3 separate regions of the Homo sapiens genome follow, and regions 1 and 3 are each linked to region 2. Evidence: promoter capture Hi-C in 16 types of primary human blood cells and fetal thymus (Javierre and others, 2016). All regions are on one chromosome and are shown on one strand. Each heading gives the region's core, a stretch centred on a gene start or on the middle of the fragment in contact. The rest is flanking DNA. Distances are from core to core; before and after follow the strand shown. Region 1 overlaps ANKRD13A (ankyrin repeat domain 13A). Region 2 holds the start of SLC25A3 (solute carrier family 25 member 3). Region 3 overlaps ACAD10 (acyl-CoA dehydrogenase family member 10).

The links. The method cuts DNA at HindIII sites, captures the fragments that hold promoters and counts their contacts. A CHiCAGO score of 5 or more calls a contact.
Region 1: a contact is called between a fragment that was not itself captured here and the fragment with the promoter of SLC25A3 in region 2, in 1 of 17 cell types (neutrophils). The highest score is 9.2, in neutrophils.
Region 3: a contact is called between a fragment that was not itself captured here and the fragment with the promoter of SLC25A3 in region 2, in 1 of 17 cell types (neutrophils). The highest score is 8.5, in neutrophils.

The regions. Positions count from the first base shown.
Region 1 is chr12:110,032,432-110,035,941 of GRCh38, reverse strand. ANKRD13A (ankyrin repeat domain 13A) reads right to left here. Exons shown (of 15, transcript NM_033121.2): 13 at 1,985-2,145. Among named protein-coding and RNA genes, the nearest start is that of C12orf76, 14 kb to the left of the region's middle. The HindIII fragment of the contact is 848 bases long and covers 976-1,823 here.
Region 2 is chr12:98,591,594-98,595,074 of GRCh38, reverse strand. SLC25A3 (solute carrier family 25 member 3) reads right to left here and starts at 1,389. Exons shown (of 8, transcript NM_002635.4): 1 at 1,335-1,389; 2 at 940-1,100. The coding sequence starts at 1,096. RefSeq lists enhancers at 350-974, 1,298-1,397, 975-1,599, 1,648-1,867. The HindIII fragment of the contact is 3,126 bases long and covers 1-2,089 here.
Region 3 is chr12:111,698,465-111,701,657 of GRCh38, reverse strand. All of the region lies in intron 2 of ACAD10 (acyl-CoA dehydrogenase family member 10), which reads right to left. Among named protein-coding and RNA genes, the nearest start is that of ACAD10, 14 kb to the right of the region's middle. The HindIII fragment of the contact is 6,707 bases long and covers 1-3,193 here.

The DNA.
Region 1 (3,510 bases), core at 150-2,649, about 11 Mb before region 2:
TGACCAAAGCAGGTTTTTGTTTTTTTAGAGACAGGGTCGCACTCTGTTGTCCAGGCTCAAGGGTAGTGATGTGATCGTAGCTCACTGCAGCCTTGACCCCAGGGCACAAGAAATCCTCCCACCTAAGCCTCCTGACTAGTTGGGAATACAGGTGCACACCACCATACTTGGCTTTTAAAATTTTTTGGTAGAGGCTAGGCATGGTGGCTCACACCTCTAATCCCAGCACTTTGGGAGGGCAAGGCTGGTGGATCACTTGAGGTCTGGAGTTTGGGATCAGCCTGGACAACATGGTAAAACCCCGTCTCTACTAAAAACACAAAAACTAGCTGGGTCTGGTGGTGCGCACCTGTAATCCCAGCTACTCGGGAGGGTGAGGCATGAGAATCACTTGAACCTGGGAGGCAGAGGCTGCAGTGAGCCAATATTGTGCCCCTGCACTGCAGCCTGAGCAAAAGAGTGAGACTCTGCCTCAAAAATTAAAAAAAAAAAAAAATTTGGTAGATATAGGATCTCACTATGTTGCCCAGGCTGGTCTCAGACTCCTGGGCTCAATCAGTCCTCCCATCTTGGCTTCCCAAAGTGCTGGGATTATAGGCATGAGCCACTGCACCCAGCCAGTAATTCTTCTAGGGCAAGATTAGAAGACACAATTCAATACTGGTAGTCTTTGACTTTGGCTACTTCCCTTGTTAAAACTTATGGTCAACAAGGTTTATGAAGCTACTTGGGAGCTGGCGGGGGGAGCTAAGCTCACTTACATAGGGAAAGGAAAAGCATACCAGGCTGATGGTGATGTGCAGGGGTCTTCTCCCAGGATGCCTCCCAAAGGGAACATGCTTGCTTTGGGGTCTGGCTCGGAAAACTGAATGGGTCTGGGAATGGGGCCATGGTGGTGGCAGGGGGAAGTGGAGGAGGTAGACTCACATTACACAAGCACTAAGACTCAGGAATAGAACCAGAAAGCTATAAGCTTGAACCAGTGAGGACGCTGGAGTGTGAGCACTGTTCTCAAAGCAGCAGCCCTGTGAGGGCAGGGGCTGCTTCCCAGAGAATTCCCAGCACCTGGCACAGAGCCTGGCACAAAGAAGGTACTCTGCAAATATCTGAATGAAGAATGGAAGAAAAAGCCAATTAACAAATAAATGGACTGCAGGAACCCAGGACACACCAGAGGGTGCTGGAGGCAGACCAGACCCTACCCTAGTAGAGCCAGGAGGCACAGAAGGAAGGAGATGGAAGGAGTTGATGTTAGGGGAGGAGGACCTCAAGCCTTGGACTGTCCCAGGTAGGTGAGGCATGGAGGGAGAACCAGATATGACAATAAAAGGCAACTGTTCTACTGGGCACAGTGGTGCATGACTTTAGTCCCAGCTACTTGGGAGGCTGAGGTGGGAGGATCTCTTGAACCCAGGAGTTTGAGGGTGCAATATGATCATGCCGGGGAACAGCCACTGCACTCCGACTTGGGCAACATAGAGTCACACACACACACACAAAGCCTACTGCTTACACAGGTCTGTCCTGTCCTTCATTTTCTGTTTCACTAGAGACCCAGAGAGAGTTTAGGGAGATGGTACCCTTTGTGGAGGAAGTGGGATTCAAATCCACTTCACTACCTTCATCCGAGACTACTGACACACAGGTAATCCTTCAGGAAAAATATGATACTGCTTCAGTGCTAGAAAATGATGAAGCACATCTCAAAAAGTACAGAATTACAAGCTATGTGCGTGAATATGAGGAAAAGGAAAGTCTGCCTGAAGACATCTTGTGAATGGTGCTGACTGGGATTATGTAGATGGTCTCTTACATAACAAGCTTTTGTAAGAAGACCAGATGCACAAAGTATAACCTATGCAAATACCATGAATGTGTCAAACTTGATATTTAGAATAAATCTTTCAGATTAGCCAAACACTGAGGCTAACCCAGAGGGTAAGACCTCCCACGCCCTGCCATTAGAGTATTCTGATAAACACACCTGGCTCCTGCTGGACTCCAGCAGACTTTGCTGGATGGCAAACTGCATTATCTCGTAATCTTCATCTTGCAAATGCACATTTCTGCCATTGTCTTGAACATAGTAAGATTCGGGAATTTCAAACACAGATTGATCAACCTCAAAGTTTGTGATGTGGGAAGCTGAAACAAAAGGCAACCGTCCAGTGTCTGAGTTCATTACATTTCCACTCCAACTTTTTGCAAAAATGTTGTACATTAGAAAAAAAAGAAAGGCTCAAAATTATAACAATCAAGGCTTACTATTATATGAGAGATTCTGAGGAAGCATGACAGAAAAAAGTGACAGAATACAGCTTTTTTCTTTTTCCTTGATTTTAGTGGAAACAACGAACACAGTCATAAAAAAATACACAAGACTATAAAATGAAAAGCGCAGATTTCTCCCCCTAAACATATACGCACAGTCACACCAATGTGTTTCTTCCTTTTGCAGGAAGATATATGGTAAATATATAAAAGTATATATAAAATATCTGAACACTTAAAAATGATAATAATTAAACAAATGCCTGTGTGCCCTTCACCTAGCCTAAGACACAGAACACTATCAATAACTGCCGGGCGCGGTGGCTCACGCCTGTAGTCCCAGCACTTTGGGAGGCTGAGGCAGGCAGATCACAAGGTCAGGAGATCGAGACCATCTTGGCTAACATGGTGAAACCCCGTCTCTACTAAAAATACAAAAAAAAAAAAAAATTAGCCGGGCGTGGTGGCGGGCACCTGTAGTCCCAGCTACTCGGGAGGCTGAGGCAGGAGAATGGCATGAACCCGGGAGGCGGAGCTTGCAGTGAGCCAAGATCGCACCACTGCACTCCAGCCTGGGTGACAGAGTAAGACTGTCTCAAAAAAAAAAAAAAAAAAGAAAAAGAAAAAAACACTATCAATACCATACTGCGGGCACATCCCTTGTTAACAATATTCCCTTCTTCCTCTCCAGAGGTAAATACATAATTCAGAATAGTTGTTTACACTGCCTAGCTCTTCTCTGGAGCTTGCCACATGTATATCATCCTAATAGTTTGTATTAGCCTGTTTGTGAACTCGACATAAATGGAATCATGCGGAATTTATTCTTCAAATTGGATTTTCTTCATTCAACATTATGCTTTTGAAATTCAACAGTTTTGACGCACATAGCTATAAATTTTTATTTTCAATACTATATGTTATTCTGTTGTATTAATAGAGCACAATAGCGCATTCTACCATCTCGGGACATTTGGGTCGTTTCCAGGTTTCTGCTGTTATGAATGGATGCTGCTGCCCAGTACTGGGGTCTCCAGATGCTCATGTGCATAACTTTCTTTAGGGTACACATCTAGGAATTGCTAGGTCATCCACATCTTCAGTTTATACAGTAATGCCGAATGTTTTATTCAAGGAACTATACCAATCTCCTCTTCCAGCCAAGAGTGCACGAGTGTTCCTTAGCTGCACAACCTCATGAACACATCTCACCCAACTTTGTTGCTACATGGGAATGTA
Region 2 (3,481 bases), core at 140-2,639:
AACAACTTCAAAGTTTATCCCAGCCACTAACCAATACTATCCCCACTTAAGAACTCCTGTAACATAAAAACGGATACGCACAAATTCCTGCAGTCAAATACATTTAATACACAAATAATGTTAGCTTTAACTTTTAAACTGAACGACAGATAGTGTAAATAAGGACTCTATCCATACTAAAGACAACAGAAGCACATGAATGATTTAAAGAAAAAAATCTTTCGATTTTACAGGCACAAGGTAGATAACATTCTTAGGACTCCTACAATTCGGTTTTCAGGTTTCTCTGTATGTACATACTTCACTAGGATTTAAAACACACACAACTAAGTTAAAGCTGGGCCCAACCACCAAGAATCCCAAGAGATAATCACACCAAAGGGACGCCCACCAATTATCTCCTTTCTATTGCCTATGTAGGGCTGCAAGCTGCCTCCTCCAGTCGCACGAAAACAGGACATCTAGTTATCTCATATACAATTAAGTGCAAAAATGACTGACCTGGCGTCGACAAATATAAAACTTAGGAAAGGACTATTTTTAAGAAAACTAAGGGCAAATCAAAGGACAGGTAATATAGTTAGTAGAACTGTGGGTGGTCAGTAGTTTCGGGAGGAGAGTTTACCCAGTACTTAGTTTGCTGACCAAGCGAGCTCACGGCGGAGAAAGAGCTAGTCACGGCCTCTCTTCCCTCGGGCACACGGAGGTCACGAAGGGACACAGGGCCTCAGCGCTTCCACGCCCTTGAGGGAAGGCCAAGGATCTGACACCCGCCTATGGTGGAAAAGGCCGATACCCCAGGGCAAGCAACTGGGCGCCGTCCTACGGTGCAGCGGGCTGGACTCGTCCTTCCCTGTCCTCCAAGCCGGGTCCAGGCCTCAAAGGCTGGGCGGCCCACAAGTAGACCACACGACTGTATTGGGCAGGGTCTGATCTCACCTTCCACGGCGGCGGCTGCCAGGTTGCGAGGGCGGCGGGGCTGGCCCGTGGGCCCTGGGGAGCTGCTGCGGAGGTCCCCGAGACCATCGTGCACCAGCTGCAGATGTGGCGTGTTGAAGGGGTTCGCCCGCGCCAGGTGCGCCACGGACGAGAACATCTTTCTAGGGGAGGAGGGAGCGACGGTTAGAGGACAGGCAAGGCGCCGGTTAACGTTACCGGCGCCCTGGAACCCCAACCGGGGCCTTTTCCTTCCCGTCTCCACGCCCTTGAAGAGGTCACGGCGGCCTTCGAAAGAGGCTGCTCCCGGCTGGGCCCACCGCCAAAGCAGCGGCCCCACAGGAGCTCTGGGCTCCGCTCCCCACACCCGCCACAGGAGAAGGCCCGGCCACACTCACTCCCTAAGATGGCGATCACACAACCACTCCCTTGGAAAGGTTGCGGCTCACAGAGGCCGGACGTCCTCCGGGTCCTAAGATGTGTGCCCTTCGCGCGTCGTCGGCGTGACGCACACAGCGCGCCACTGCAAGTACGCGTCGCCCATTGGTGGAGAAGAGCGCCGAGCCCGTAGCGTCATCGCGTTCTCCTAGCAACCTTATTCCCGCCCCTGCCCGCCCCAGCTCTTCCGCCCGGCTTGTGCGCGGGAGGATTCGTTCTGCGCAGGCGCGCGTTCCGGGTCTATATTTTTTGAGAGGGGTCGGGCTCGAGCTCTTACCCTGCTCGCTTTGTCCCTTCACCTTCAGGTGTCTCTCCTTGACCACGGGCTTCAGTTCGCTTCACTTAAGTGAATCACAGTATCTAGTAGTCACTTAAAAAACAAAACAAAACGCGAATGCTTGATAATATATTTAGGTGTTGGAGTTACAACATCACTGCAGTACTTTGTGTCACAACTTCTGCCATTACAGTACTTTTTAAAATAAGTTCCATCCATTGACATTAAACATAGGTATGTCTGTATTTTTCATCAGACTCCTGGAGAATATTTTAAAAAGAAATGTGCAGCAAGAAGTCTTACGACAGCTTGCCGCGTTATCACAGTAATCTACAGAACACGTTGAAACATTGAACTCCTGAGATGTTACAGCGATGAACTACTGAAAGTGACTGATAGCAGATTGTGCGTGTGTGTGGTTAATACATTTAGGAAGCTTTCATTAGATTCAGCTCAACAGGGAGGGGCGTAGTTTAGTTGGGGAGAGTTTAATAGGGATTCAACCTGTTAGACTTCTGACTCTTATATTTTCCAAGCTCTTGACAAAGTAACCTTGGGAATTTACTTCATCTCTGTGTACCTGTTCCCTAGATGTAAGATAGGGGTGGGACTGGCCTCATAGGTTCACACTGGTACAGTCACACATGGCCTTACACTTCATTTAATGCTCTGCTGTCATTTTGATTTTTTTTTTTTTTCTTTTGAGATGGAGTCTTGCTCTGTCGCCCAGGCTGGAGTGCAGTGGGGCGATCTCAGCTCACCGCAACCTCCGCCTCCCGGGTTCAAGCGATTCTCCTGTCTCAGCCCCCGGAGTAGCTGGGACTACAGGCGTGCACAACCACGCCCGGCTAAGTTTTCTATTTTTAGTAGAGACAGAGTTTCGTCACGTTGGCCAGTCTGGTCTCGAACTCCTGAGCTCAGGTGATCCGCCCACCTCGGCCTCCCAATGTGCTGGGATTACAGGCCTGAGCCACCATGCCCGGCTTGAAATTCTTAATACATGTATGAACAAGGGGCCACGCTTTTTTTAGTTTGCACTGGACCCTGCAAATCAGGTGTCTGGTTCTGGATGGGAGTAATACTTACCTTGCAGAGTCTATGAGAACTCAATGAGATAATGTCTAAAAGTCTACAGAAGATGTTACCTAAAAAAAGTTAGCATTGGCCGGGCGAGGTGGCTCACGCCTGTAATCCCAGCACTTTGGGAGGCCGAGGCGGGCAGATCACGGGGTCAGGAGATCGAGACCATCCTGGCTAACACGGTGAAACCCCGTCTCTACTAAAAATACAAAAAATTAGCCGGGCGAGGTGGCGGGCGCCTGTAGTCCCAGCTACTGAGGAGACTGAGGCAGGAGAATGGCGTGAACCCAGGAGGCAGAGCTTGCAGTGAGCCGAGATCATGCCACTGCACTCCAGCCTGGGCGACAGAGCAAGACTCCGTCTCAAAAAAAAAAAAAAACAAAAAAACAAAAGTTAGCATTGAGGCTGCGGCATCACGGCACTCTCTAAGCAACCCTATCCCAGACCCAGCCCTTCTGGCCCAACTAAAGTCCTACAGTCCCAGGAAGAATTCCAGAGTGGAGGGCACAGGAAGGGAAGTAGTGACAGATAAAGTTAAAAAAGTACACTAGCACCTGATTGTCCAGGGCCTCACATACCAGACTGAGGAGTCTGATCTTATGTAGACAGAGGTAGTCACTGAAGGGTCTGGACTTTCTCTCTCTCTTTTTTGGTTAATTCAACTTTATGGTGCTTTTCTAATTTAAAAATCCTTTGTCATGAAAAAGTCAAATATTATGTAAAAATATATGACTGTAGTGAATCTTCCTA
Region 3 (3,193 bases), core at 416-2,915, about 13 Mb before region 2:
AGCCTCACTCAGTCACCCAGGCTAGAGTGCAGTGGTACAATCTCAGCTCATTGCAACCTCCACCTCACAGGTACAACTGATTCTCGTGCCTCAGCCCCCCAGGTAGCTGAGATTATAGGCGTGCACCACCAAGCCTGGCTAATTTCTGTATTTTCAGTAGAGACAGGGTTTTGCCATGTTGGCCACGCTGATCTCAAACTCCTGACCTCAGGTGATCTGCCTGCCTGCCTCGGGCCTCCCAAGGTACTGTGTGTGATTACAGGTGTGAGCCACTGTGCCTGGCCAAGAAGGAAATTTCTGTCCACAAAGAGCTAAGGCAGTGGATGGATCAGCATCAGCATCTGTAGAATACTGGGAACATTTGTGCAAGGACTGTTTCTCCTCATCCACAGTTGCTTTTTCTGTCTATAATACAGATGCTGGGGGCAAATATATACATACAACATTCATAATTATATATCTAAGACAAAATACACTTTACATATAGCTTTTGTTTTGGAATTAAAACACCTTTGTTGTTTTTTTCTGATAAAGTAGTGTCTGTGCATTGAAAATTTTTCAGACAATATATTTCATAGAAAACTATGCAAAAGAAAGTAGGCTGGGTGCAGTAGCTCACACCTATAATCCCGGCACTTTGGGAGGCCAAAATGGGAGGATCGCTTGAGGCTAGGAGTCTGATACCAGCCTGGGCCACATGATTAAACCCTGTCTCTAGAAAAAATTTAAAAATTAGCTTGGCGTGATGGGTTGCACCTGTAATTCTAGCTACTCGGGAAACTGAGGTGGAAGGATCGCTTAAGCCCAGGAGTTTGAGGCTGCAATGAGCTATGATGGTGCCACCGCACTGCAGCCTAGGGACATAGAGCAAGACCCCATGTCTTAAAAAAAAAAAAAAAAAAAAAAAAAGAAGAGGAAGGAAGGAAGGAAGGAAAGTAAAAGGACAAGCAGTCCTATCTTCTTTCAGAAATAACTAATGTTAACAATCTGGTATATGTCCTTTGAAAATAACAAGACTTTTAAAACTCAATCCAAAAAATACTTTAATTTTAGAGCTAAAGCATATAGCATTTTTCACAGTCTCGGAGTTGGCAAGCATGTGAGGAAACCGGCACCATCATATGCTGTTGACGGGAGCGTAAACAAGCACAACCTCTGCAGACAGCAATTTGATAATTTCTGTCAAAATCTGAAATGCACATACATTTGACGTAGTAATTCTACTTTCAGAAATTTCTTCCATATATATTTATGAAAGTAAGCAAAGGTTATGTACAAGGTTGTTTGTGCAGAATTGCTCATAATAAAAAGAACTAGAAAAGTTAAATGTATACTAATAAGGTGTTTATTACATCAATTATGATATATTCATATAACGGAATACCACACAGATGTTAAAACATATAAACTTGCCCAAAGGTCAGCAAAATATGGCTTGGGGCCAAATCTGTCTCCTATCTATTTTTTTAAGAGATGGGGTCTTGCTGTGTTGCCCAGGCTGGCCTCAAACTCCTGGGCTCAAATGAACCTTCACCTCAGCCTCCCTAGTAGCTGGAACTACAGGCACACACCAGCATGCCTGGCTCTACCTATTTTCGTAAATAAAGTCTTATTGGAACACAACCACACTTGTTTACTATTGTCTATTATTGCTTTCTTGCTGCAATGGTAGAAGTGAATAGTTGTGACTGAGAGTATGGCTCACAAAGCCTATCTAGCCCTTCTTTATTTTTGTTTTTTAAGATGGGGTCTTGCTGTTGCCCAGGCTGGGGAGCTGTGGCACAGTCATGGCCCACTGCAGCCTCAAGCTCCCAGGATCAAGTGATCCTTCTGCCTTAGCCTCCTGAGTAGCTGGGATTACAGGTGCGTGCTACCATGCCCAGCTAATTTTTTTATTTTTTGTAGAAATGGGGATCTCACTATGTTGCCCAGGCTAGTCTCAAACTCCTGGCCTCAAACAGTCTCCCACCTCGGCCTCCCAAAGTGCTGGGATCGTAGCCATAAGCCATCACATCCACCATGTCTAGCCCTTTATAGAAAAAGTTTACTAACCTCCAAACTAGATCCTAGACATATGCCAACTGATATGAAAAAGATGGCAAAATATCATACTGAGTCAAAAAAAAGCTATGGAACAGTCTACAGCATATGATCCAATTTGTATATGCCCCCCACACCCACCCCCAACACACACGGGCAATTTTTCAAAAATAAACAAGAAACTTTTCACAATGATAACCACTTAAGTCTGGAACCAACTGGGAAAGGGTCGAGGTGGCAGCAGGAAATTTTATCTGTATTTTATGCTCTTTTAGCAGTGACTATTCAATAAATGGGGTTGGCATAACTAGGTTTCAATATGGAATAGAAATTAAGTTAAATCATCTTTCAGGCCATCACAAAACAAATTCCCAATACAGTAAATATCCAAGTCAGAAAAACAAAATTCTAAAACTTAGAAAATAATATAGAAGGCTGGGCGTGGTGACTCATGGCTAAAATCCCAGCACTTTGGGAGGCAGAGGCAGAGGTGGGCAGATTGTTTATGCTCCCAAGTTCAAGGCCAGCCTGGGCAACATGGTGAAAACCCATCTCTACAAAAAATACAAAAATTAGCCAGGTGTGGTGGTGCGAGCCTATAGTGCAGCTACCTGTGAGGCTGAGGTGGGAGGATAGCTTGAGCCTGGGAGGCAGAGGTTGCAGTGAGCCGAGGTCACTCCACTGCACTTTAGCCTGAGTGGCAGAGTAAAATTCCGTTTCAAAAAGAAAGGAAGAAAAAGAAAACTTTGGTACAGCTAAAAGCATTATCAATAAAATCAAAAGACAAGGCATAAAAGGGAGAAAATATTTGCAAATCATGTAACAGATAAACGGTTATGACCGGCCGGGCGCAGTGGCTCATGCCTGTAATCCCAGCATTTTGGGAGGCCAAGGCGGGCAATCACCTAAGGTAGGGAGTTCGAGAGCAGCCTGACCAACGTGGAGAAACTCCGTCTCTACTAAAAATACAAAATTAGCCAGGGGTGGTGGTGCATGCCTGTAATCCCAGCTACTCAGGAGGCTGAGGCAGGAGAATCGCTTGAACCTGGGAGGCAGAAGTTGTGGTGAGCCAAGATTGCACCATTACATTCCAGCTTGGGCAACAAGAGCAAAAGTCTGTCTCAAAAAAAAAAAGGTTTACTGAAAATCAACA